3 separate regions of the Homo sapiens genome follow, and all the other regions are linked to region 2. The links are contacts of gene promoters, found by promoter capture Hi-C in blood cells and fetal thymus (Javierre and others, 2016). All regions are on one chromosome and are shown on one strand. Each heading gives the region's core, a stretch centred on a gene start or on the middle of the fragment in contact. The rest is flanking DNA. Distances are from core to core; before and after follow the strand shown.

The links. Contacts are between HindIII fragments. The CHiCAGO score rates a contact against its expected background, and 5 or more counts as called.
Region 1: a fragment that was not itself captured here is called in contact with the fragment with the promoter of RNF182 in region 2 in 1 of 17 cell types (endothelial precursors); the score reaches 5.2 in endothelial precursors.
Region 3: a fragment that was not itself captured here is called in contact with the fragment with the promoter of RNF182 in region 2 in 1 of 17 cell types (endothelial precursors); the score reaches 6.6 in endothelial precursors.

Annotation. Positions count from the first base shown.
Region 1 is chr6:14,022,823-14,026,386 of GRCh38, forward strand. No RefSeq gene overlaps it. Among named protein-coding and RNA genes, the nearest start is that of CD83, 93 kb to the right of the region's middle. The HindIII fragment of the contact is 4,178 bases long and covers 1-3,564 here.
Region 2 is chr6:13,923,619-13,927,340 of GRCh38, forward strand. RNF182 (ring finger protein 182) reads left to right here and starts at 1,334. Exons shown (of 3, transcript NM_152737.4): 1 at 1,334-1,405. RefSeq lists an enhancer at 229-729. The HindIII fragment of the contact is 2,801 bases long and covers 759-3,559 here.
Region 3 is chr6:14,047,565-14,051,229 of GRCh38, forward strand. No RefSeq gene overlaps it. Among named protein-coding and RNA genes, the nearest start is that of CD83, 68 kb to the right of the region's middle. The HindIII fragment of the contact is 1,182 bases long and covers 1,295-2,476 here.

The sequences.
Region 1 (3,564 bases), core at 599-3,098, 100 kb after region 2:
GACTTCAAATTCTACTAGCTGTGTGAGCTTGGATAGGTTACTTAACCTCTCTGGACTTCTGTTTTCTTATCTGAAGAATGGAGATAATCATTGATATGGTTTGACTCTGTGTTCCCACCCAAATCTCATCTCGAATTGGAATCCCCACGTTTGGAGGGAGGGACCTGGTGGGAGGTGATTGGGTCATGGGGGCAGTTTCGCCTGTGCTGTTCTTGTGATAGTGAGGGAATTCTCACGAAATCTGATGGTTTAAAAGTGGCAGCTTCCCCTATGCTGTCTCTCTCCTGCTGCCATGTAAGATGTGCCTTGCTTCCCCTTCACCTTCTGCTACGATTTTAAGTTTCCTGAGGCCTCCCCAGCCATGTGGCACTGTAAGTCAATTAAACCTCTTCTCTTTAAAAATCACCTAGTCTCTGGTAGTATCTGTATAGCAGTGTGAGAATGGACTGGAGCGAGGATTGAATCGGGTAGTGCAGTGAATGGCAGACCTTGCGGAGGGTCCGCTTCTCTTGTTCTAGCACCCAGGATGGGCCGTCCTCAGGGTGTGGCCCCAGGAGCTCCTGGCTTCAGAATGGCAGAGCCAGTGTGGCCTTACTGCTCACAAGGTAGGCATCCCTCTTTGGTTCTTTTTTTTTTTTTGAAGACGGAGTCTTGCTCTGTCACCCAGGCTGGAGTACAGTGGCATGATCTCGGCTCACTGTAACCTCTACCTCCCAGGTTCAAACAATTCTCCTGCCTCAGCCTCCTGAGTAGCTGAGATTGCGGGCACCTGCCACCATGCTCAGCTAATTTTTGTAGTTTTAGTAGAGATGGGGTTTCACCATGTTGGCCAGGCTGGCCTCCAATTCTTGACCTCAGGTGATCCACCCACCTCGGCCTCCCAAAGTGCTGGGATTACAGGCATGAGCCACCGTGCCCGGCACCTCCTTGGCTCTTAAGGGTCAAAATACAGTGTTGTTGTTGCTGTTGTTTTTTCATCAGTCTTCATTATTTTAGTTTCGATGGAGGGAGGCTGTAATGTCCCAAATGCTTTATCTTGGGCAGTGGGATCAGCATAGCCCTTGGAATCACCTGCCACCTACAGTGTTGCTGGAAGAAGCAGCACCCCGCCACATGCTCTTTTTTTGAGGTTTTGCCTCAGTAAATCCTTACGAGGCTCAGGCAGACAATTTATCCCATCATTTGGCCGTGATTTTTGTTAATAGAAGAAAGGTAGTAATTGTGGAATGCAGCCTGCAGGAAGTAAACAAAATACTTCCCTGCTTAATAAGCCTTTCATTCATTTTCTCAATCTCCTGCTGGGTTTGTCTTTGTCTTTTTCTTTTTCAAAATGGAAAAACCATTTTGTTGATTTTTTCCCTCATTGAAAGACTTTAATGGAAGAAATATTATGGGATATTTAGTCCTCTGCCTCCTTTCTCCTCCCTGAAGCTCTGCTTCAATCATATCAAACTGGCTGCAGCTGGGGCTTCAGAACCCAGCTGAGAATAAAACCGGGATAGAGTGGAGCACCACGCTGCCATTTTGCTCCCTGGGGCTGTACACGGTGGGGCAGGCTTTGTCCTAGATCCCAAAACAGCGGTGCTGAGTGTTCTATGTGCAGAGCTTTATGCAAATACCTGCACACTTCTGCCTGCATCTCACCCTGGTCCATAAAACTGGACCACCAGTGCCTGAAGACCATACTAATCAGGAGTGGGGAGCCCAGAAAACAAGCCTGCCCAGCTCCTGCCTGCAGGAGCTCTCAGTCTGATCTGCAGAGGAGGTATAGGCCTTAGATGGGAGGCCATGGGGACCGCATTGCTAACAGCTGTGGTGAGTGGGGCTTGGGGAAAGTAGGGGAGCTGTTGAGTGGTGGGATGGGGATCTGCTCTTCCCTGGATGCTCCAGGCTGAGGCAAATCACTTGAAAAGGGCATTGTTTGGAGCTCTGCATTCACAATCATATCTGAGACTGAACTAAGGGAAGAAAAACAATGAAGGGTGGGGAAGGGAAGGAGTTAGAAGAACAAAGTAGGCAGCAGCCCTATTTGCGAGCCCTCTGCCTCTCAGTGAGTGCTTTTTTTTTACAGGAGCCCAAGCTCTTCCTTTCCCTGAGGTTTCTGCAGACACTGACAGGAGTGATGCAGAGGCTGGAAGTGTAGAGCTGTAGGACAGACTGATCCTCAGCCTCCGGAAGAGGGGCCTTTGAAAGCTCAGCCCTCGGGTCCCTGCTAAGGTGTGCACCGCAGCCCCAGCAGCCTGAGCACAGCCTTTCTACTCACACTGAGGACTAACTTGATGACATCCTGCCCATCTTTGGGTTCGCTTGCATTTGCTGCCAAGACTAAGGCATAGCCATTGTCTAGGTCTTTCAGCTTTTGAAACATTTTCCTCTACTTCCTCTATCAGACAGTATCTAAATGACACCAATAAGTGAAACTGAAGCAGTCAGATCTGTGGCCCCGTTTAGGGTTTGGCAATGAATGATAGTGAAGGTGGCTTCCCGGGCCCATCCCGAATGTTTAATTCACTCTTGCGTCAGTGAGCTCACCCCTCACAACTGCCACATTAGCAACCTCACTCTAATAACTTTCCTGGCAAAGGCAGAAGTGACAGCCCAACCTCAATCATTACATCACTCCCCAACCCCTTCGCATAGACCGCCTCCCATGGCTTACCACAGCATCTGAAAACACCCATGGCGCTGAGGCTGGCGTTGCCACTTGCAATGATCTGGCCCCTGCTGCCTTCCCAGCACCTGCTCCACCCCACCTTCACTTAGTCTCTGTTCTAGGAAAACTGTATCCACTCTTCCTGAACATTCTCTGTACCTTCCCACTTCTCTGCTTTTCCTTAAGGGGTTCTACCACAGGAATACCCTCCACATCTCTACCTGCTGAAATCTCATCGTCCTCCAGGGCACAATGCAAATGTGATTTTCTTGATGAAGCCCTTCGTGATTTCTGCAGCTTCATTATGACTTTCTGAACTTGTGTCTCCTTGTTCATTCCTGACCATGGTTCACACCCTAAGCCCTCATCTTTGATATGGGTCATCAACTTTCTGGACCAACTTTTTAAAAACAAATATGCATTGAAGGCTTACAGTGTTCCCACTACTTTGCAGAGATTGGCAATGGAAAGATGATTAAGAGACTGAATGTGTCTTTGAGGACATCAAAAATCCAGGCAGGTAAACAGCTAATTACAATGAAATGTGCTAAGACACAGGAACAGGATTCTGGGAGTACACAGAGATGGACAAGGGCCCAAAGCTACTGAAGTTCCTGGTGTGTGCAAGGAATAGTTGCTAGTCTCTGGGTGGTTAGAGGAAGGACTTGTATAGGGGTGCATTGGGAAGTGAAGCTGGAAAACCATGATCCCAGATTGTAAGGGAATTTGTGGGTCAAGCTATTTTGCAGGCAATAAGAAAGCATCAGAAATCATGGAGCAGGGGAGTGATGGGTCAGAGCTGAATTTCACAAAGGCTCCTTTGACCTGAGCAGGTTCTACTCCTGGCCCAATTACAGCTGAGTTCCTGAGTACCCAGCAACCGCAGGGTGCCTGGCTGTTCCCTGGCAGCA
Region 2 (3,722 bases), core at 84-2,583:
CATCTGGAATATTATTGACTTCATTCAGAATATTCCCATTACAAGAAAGTGGCCAGTCTCTCCGAGGAACAAACTGTTTTCCTTTTCCACCATGAAATAGATCTTATCTTTTCATTAGTTAATATAGGTGTACCTTCAAATGGCAATAACATTGTTCTGCTTTGTGGCTTCTCAAGTAGTAAACCCAGAAAACATCAGCTACCGTGGATTTTATTATAAATCATTGACATTCCTTTGGTGATTCACAAATGCCAAAAAATAAATGTCATGTTCCCCAGGGTTTGAAGAAAGACACTGTAGCTTTTGGATTCAGCAACGGATCTTTCAAGAAAACAGTATGGAGGGATGACTCACTCCCCCCATGGAGGCTGCCCTCTAGTTCGTCCTTTAGAGGAAGCATGACCAAGGGTCTGCTGGTACTTTTCTCTCCCTCTCTAAGAATTTCCTCAGGAGAGGAAAAAGTTAGCTTTCTTTTCTCTGCTCCTGAGTGCCATGGCCTGCAGTACGTGACCAGTCCTTGGCACAGAGTCACTCAGGGCTCATGGTAGATGCTTAGCGGTCACAGCCAGTAGCTGCGCAGTGTGGCAGCAGCTGAGATCCATACTGCAGCCTGAAAGTTGTGTTTCAGCTTCTGAGGTTACAAGTGTATCCAGTGTTTACATCAGAGATAAAGCCCCCTTTCCCCTCTCTCCTACGGGAGCCCTCAACAAGACAGATACACGGGTTGGGTGGAGTGAGACCACATCCAGCAGAGGCAAAGCTTGCTAAAAGAGAGAGGAGGAGGAGGGGGAGAGGGAGGAGGCGGCACGGCGTCCCTTGGCAGCTCCGTGCATGCTGCGGCAGTTGCAACAGGAGAACCGAGTACCAGTTGCTCAACACTTTATCACTTTGCATTGCTCTTTCTCCTCCCTTAAGTGAATTTCCATTTTGAGGGTACAGCTCCACAGGAGAAAGGTGTGGTGGTGGTAGTGGTGGAGGGTGTCTGTGGGGGGGATGGTGGTGCGACGGGAGTTGGAATGTCCAGTGTGGGGAAGCAAAGGAGTGCCTACTAGGATGCGAATACCACTTGGCCCTGGGCTCGCTCCGCTTTAGCCTTCCCCTCTCGCTGGGGAGAAACAGGCGGTTTGTGAGGGAGACTGAGAGAGGGGCGTGTTTGTGGTGGTGGCGGCCCATCGGGGGTCCTTGTCCTCTCCGAATACCCGGACTGCTGAGGGGAAGGGCCGGGGGGGCCCCGGCGGTTGCCATGGTGACGCAGGGTCGGCGGCTCAGCGCCGTAGAGACAAAGCCGCCCGCCCGCCAGCCCGCTAGCTCCTCGCGCGAGCTCCTCCTCCACGGGAACCTCCCTCCCCTCCCAGGCGCCGCCGCAGCCGGAGCGGCTCCCGGGCCCTGGGCCGCCGCCGGCCAGGTAAGGCGATCGCGCCCGCGGCCGGGGAGGGGTCGGCGGGACGCCGGGCCTCCCCAACGCTGGGGCAGCAGCCAGCCCCGCAGTCCTGGACGGCGCCGGGCCGCCCAAGCGCGCCGAGGAGAGGGGGCGGCAAACTTCGGGCCGAGCGGCGCCGGGGCCCGCGCGCGGAGTCTCCCTCCGGGCACCACGGGGGCCGCCGTCCTGGCACCAACTTGAGGGGCTGTGCGGCGGAGGGCGGCTGCGGAGCGCCCGCGCGGGCTGCACCTGCTCAGGGAGCTGCCCCTCTGTTGTTGTTGTTATTTTCCTTCTTGGCGTGCCATCGAGGCTTTTGGGGGAAAAAAAGGTATGAAAGTATTTACCTTTGGACTTTCATGTTTCATGGCATTCTCTTTGAGGAGGGGTTGGGAGGGTAGTAAGAGGGACAAGCGAAAGATTTTTACGAATCTCTGAAAAGTGAGCCCATTTTTATGCCTGTGGCTGAAGCATTTTGAGGAGGCTTCTGAAGTTCGTTTGGATATTGAATCGAAAGACCTTTTTTTCTTTGGAAGGTGCAGTTGCACCTATAACTGGATGGTAAGGGTAGCCCGGCTTTCCCCGACTAGCAAGACCAGAATGTAGAGCAGTACCGATACTTTGTCAAGGAGATACTTGGCACCGAGGTCATTGCTTTTGTTTCTAGAAGGTATTGTGTTCATGCTGTAAGGAACTGGAAAGTGCCTTTTGTTTTTATGTGTAGGGAGGCAATCCAAAGCACCTCTGGAGGCAGGTAGCTGGGCGGTGTTTGCATCGGTGTTTATGAGTGGGATGATGAGGACCACGATGCGGTTGCCACTGGGGCACTGGATAGGTTATAGGTACCTTTCTCAGTGGCCCCAACCCTTGCAATCATTTCGTGATAGTTTGTTGCAGACGCGAAGCACAGATTTAAATTGTGACTGTGAAGACTTTTTTTTTTGGTACTTAGACATCATCTTACATGTAGTAATATGAAAGAAAACAGATACATTTTCAGAAATACAGTTGATCAATTCAGAAGGAAATTGTATATATGTTAATAAGATTTGTTTTAAATCATATTTAAACAATATGAGATGTCATATTGATAACTGGAAAATAATCTAACATATAAAATTGTATATCCAACTTAGTAAAATAATGTATAAGTTGGAATAGGTCATTTAAAGAACTATATGGAATGCAAGAAATTATATTTTTGCTAGAGAGTAATTAATGAAAACAGTACCACTGATCATTTTGAATTGCAGTTAAGTTGATTGGAATTCTGCATATTACAGCTACTTGAGGTGTCAGGCAAAGAGTGATTATTTAATATTCCTCTTCCCTCTTTTGGGATTTCAACACCTGTTAGCCTGCTGATTACTAGGTTTCTCAGTCTGTTCATATTTGCCAGCAACTTCAAGTAATGCCACTTCATTAGAAGATTGTATTGGAAACTAAAGGATTGAAGTTGCAATTAACAGTTTGCAGGTTATTTCACAATTGGGCTTGTTTTTAAACTGAATTTTACCTGTGGAAGATTCACAGATGCTCTGCTAAATACTCTTTCATGACGGTAATAAAATCGTACATTGATTAAAACGAAGTAGATCTGTTTTGAGAAGATAAACGGGAGAGAAAAGTATTTTCTCACTTAAGCATGAACAGCAAATAGGATATTGAAGCCTAGGCACATTATATAGACAGAGAATGTAGTTTTATGTTTTGTACTAAAAATAAATTATTTTGTGTGTTTGTGTGTGTGTGTGTGTTTTTTTTTTTTTCCTGAGGGACCAACAGAACAGCTTTATTCAGATCTTTGTTAGCAAAACCAGTATTCAAGTTCAAGGACTTGGTCCGTGCTTTCTGCCAGATGAAACCCACACTGTGAGTTCTAGCCTAAACATTTATGTTGTGGCCCTTAATCTGAGTGCTGAAGAACGGAGATATCCATGGTGAATTTAGCACAGTAAGGACCGGTGCTTTGCCTTTGCTGCTAGCTCACACGGGCACAACATTCAATATAGTTTGGCTTCTTCAGAGCTGCATCATTTTCTGCCAAAAAATAAAGTCGGTATACAGAAATCAACAATCATGTATTGCATGCACTGCTTGGTTGTAGTGGCTTATTAATAAGAGCTCCGAAGCATGAAATGAAGCTTGTGTCAGTGCAGTGGAAAACAATAATCTGGCATGTTTATATGTGTTACTAGTGTTCTGAGGTATGTGCATAACCAGATAATGAAAGAAAAAATACTATGATATCTGCAATATGTCCTTAGAAAATGCAAACAGCAATTGTGTTTTCTGTCCATGGTTT
Region 3 (3,665 bases), core at 636-3,135, 120 kb after region 2:
TATTTGAAGAGCTGTCTGTGGAAGAAAGATTAGACTAGTTCAGTTTAGTTCCAAAGAACTTTCCAATTGGTAGAAGGTAGGAGGCAAAAATTTCAGCTTGACAAAAATCTCAGAATTGTCTGAAGTAGTTTTGGTTTGCTTTGCACATCATGGAAGGCATTTAATCATAAAAACTAATTTTCCTTAGTCCTTTCTCAGACATACTGAACCAGAGTCTCCAGGAGGAGGTCCCAGGAATCTCTATTTGATAATAAGCTCCTTGATGATTCAGAGGCAGCTGTCTGCAGACTGTTGTTAGAGAATTAGGGATTGGACTGGGAGACTCAGGTATGAGAGGACTAGTGGAACTAAATGATCTGAAACCATAAGATTTTATGGTTCCAGCTCAGCATGGTGGCTCACGCCTGTAATCTCAGCACTTTGGGAGGCTGAAGTGGATGGATCACCTGAGGTCAGGAGTTTGAGACCAGCTTGACCAAAATGGTGAAACCCCATCTCTACTAAAAATATAAAAAATTAGCTGGGCATGGTGGTACGTGCGTGTAGCCCCAGCTATTCAGGAGGCTGAGGCAGGAGAATCCCTTGAACCTGGGAGGCGCACGTTGCAGTGAGCCGAGGTTGTGCCATTGCACTCCAGCCTGGGCAAAAAGAGCAAAATTCTGTCTCAAAAAAAAAAAAAAAAAAAGATTTTATGGTTCCAGAAGATCATGGAACTCTCTTCTTAATAATGGTAATATTAGTCATTGTGGTCTTTGCTGGGACTGCTACCAAACTAGAAAACCAAATCAAGAAGGTGGGCATGGGAGTCTGGCAGATGTTTTAAGCAACATAGGGTAAAACTCCATGCATTCTACACCCTGCAGAGGGTAGAAATGATTGACCTTCAAATACCCACGCCCAAATACCCCACCTTACAAATTACTGTATTGTAGTCAAATTTGTAGTGATGATTTCTACATATCTCATTTCTAATTTAGAGCACTTGGAGAGGTAACTGAAATAATCGGTCAACTTCTTTTAAGGAGAATTATCAAATAATGAAATGTTTGTTGAACTGATATGGTTTGGCTGTGTCCCCACCTAAATCTCATCTTGAATTATAAGCCCCACAATCCCCACATGTTGTGGGGGGGTAATTCAATAATGGGGGCTGTTTCCCATATGCTGTTCTCAAGATAGTGAGTGAGTTCTCACAAGCTCTGATGGTTTTATGCACTGTTTTTGTTTGCGGGAGGTTTGACAATTTATACCAGGAGTAGGGAAAGGAGTTGAAGGTTAATTGCTCACCCTTCTAAGCTTTTAAAGCTAAAAACACTTATTTAGGAACTCAGATGAGGAGGAATGGGGAGCTCTTATTATAGAAGTCCTAGCCTGCACTGACTCATCCATTTTAAGTACTCATTAAATATTAGACGTGATGATTATTTATTGAGTGCAGAATTGGAGAGTGGCACAAAGATGAATAGTCTATGGTCCCTGCTTTCAAAGATCTCGGAGTCTAGCCTTGATGACGTAATCACAGTGAATGTGACAAGTGTTATATTAGAGGTTCTTAGGGCATGTGGCAAGGGAATGTACAAAGGTGTGTGTCTCCAACCCAGTCTGACCAGAGATTGTATGAATGGGGCTAGTTACCTTTCCCTGACCAGGTCATTAATTTACAGAGGTTGGGGCATTGTTGCTTTTGTTGGTTTGTTTCAGACTGGAAGAAGGAGGAAAGGCTTATGCGTGGTTCCCAGGATGCTGAAGAGAAAGACAGGAGTGTGGAGGGGAAGGCATGACTCCCTTCGCTGCCTGGTCTGAGAGGCTGGACCTACAATGAGAGGAAACACAACCAGAGGTAAAGGAGGGTCAATAAGACTTGGAGTACACATAGTGGAGTGTTTCAAGGCTCTTGCAACCTAATAAGGCACAGAGCAGAAGGAGAGCCATTTTCCCATGGTCTGCCATAGGCCAGAGCAGCCCAGGGAAGCAATTTGGACCAGGAAGTGTTGAATTTTCACAAGGGCATCTGCCACTGGGCAGAGAAGGGCACCTCCTCAAGGAGATATGGGTATCAAAAACTGAAGTTCACCCATGGAGGTGTTGCTGAGCTCCTTTATGAGAGCCCTTGGGGACCCACAAAAATAACTAGGGGATAATTTGAGGGTGGACTTAGTTCTAGGGTCAGCGTTTAAGAAGTTGGTAAAATTCAGGTAATCAAGATCCAGTCATGCATCACTTGGTGATGGGGATATGTTCTGAGAAACGCATCGTCGGGCAATTTTGTCATTACACGAACATCATAAAGTGTACCTACACAAACCTAGATGGTATGGCCTACTACACACCTAGGCTATATGGTATAGGCTATTGTTTCCAGGATACAAACCTGTACAGCGTGCTACTGTACTGAATACTGTAGGCAATTGGAACACAATGGTACTTATTTGTGTATCTATATACAGAAAAGATACAATAAAAATATGCTGTTACAAGCTTATGGGGCCACCTTGGTATATGTGATCTGTTGTTGACTGAGACATCATGGCTGTTTCTGTTCTAGGAACACGGAGAAAGTAAAAATCTGTGAGAAGGTCCTGGTAGATGGGGCTACAGAAATGTGTAGAAAGGACATTATGAACTGGGCTTCAAAGATTAAGTAGGAGTTTGTTAGGCTGACATGGGTTGGTGAGTATCTCAGACAGAGAGTCAGTATCCTTTCTAGAGTATCTCCCTTGCACCTTCGTACCTTTTCCCCAACACCCAGTATTAACTCAGTGCTTCCTTGTGCCATCTAGTTATGCTGCGGGGAGCAGCGTTGTCTTTGGGGTCTCTCTCCTGCTCAGTCTTCTCATAATCATGCCCATGACGTCCATTGTAGACTGCTGGCCCTGTGCTTCTCCACTTTACCATGGGTGGGGCTTGGAGGTGGCCTCAAATGCTAGAACAGGGAAAAGGAGACATCTCTGTCCATCTATGTCCATATTACAGATTCATATATACACATCTAAGGGAGAGTGATTCTTATTTAACAGCAATACAAGTTCCACTTGAAAGCCCCTGTTCTCTCTTTTCCTTACCACCAGCATCATGGTTAGACTGCTGGGCTGGGTGGATAGGCATGTAGAATGAGTGGCAGAGAATGCTGGATTACCAAACAGTGCAGGGCAGAGCAGGTGAATGAGGGGAGCTGAGATGGACCAACCAGCAGCTTGTGGGGTGGCACAGAAACACTTTCAGGATGTCGAAGCCGGGCTTGAGCTGCTTCTCCTGGGGAGCCTCCAAATCCAGAGGCATGATGGCTGCATGTCACATTGACCTGTCTGGTGCTATCAGGAGGGGCATGATCATTTTTGTCCAAAGCTGTCAAGAAGCACATGAATCTAATAGGCTGCCCAGAGTGAAGGAGCAGACTTGGGAACTTGAGTCCCACCTTTGATTCACCATTGCTCGTGCAGATGGGACTCAATCTGTTCCCTAGAAGGGCTCTCAGGGGAGTCTGGCTTTCCTTTTCTACCATAAACCCTAGCTTTCTTCACACTTAGACCTGGGGATTTGGTGAACATCTGCAAAGATAAGAAGATGCCCTCTTTTCTGTCAATCCTCTGATATCCTAGGTTTTGCAGGGAAGCAGAGCTAAGAAAGCGTGTGTAGATTGTGGTCACCTGGGTGATCTCTTGCAC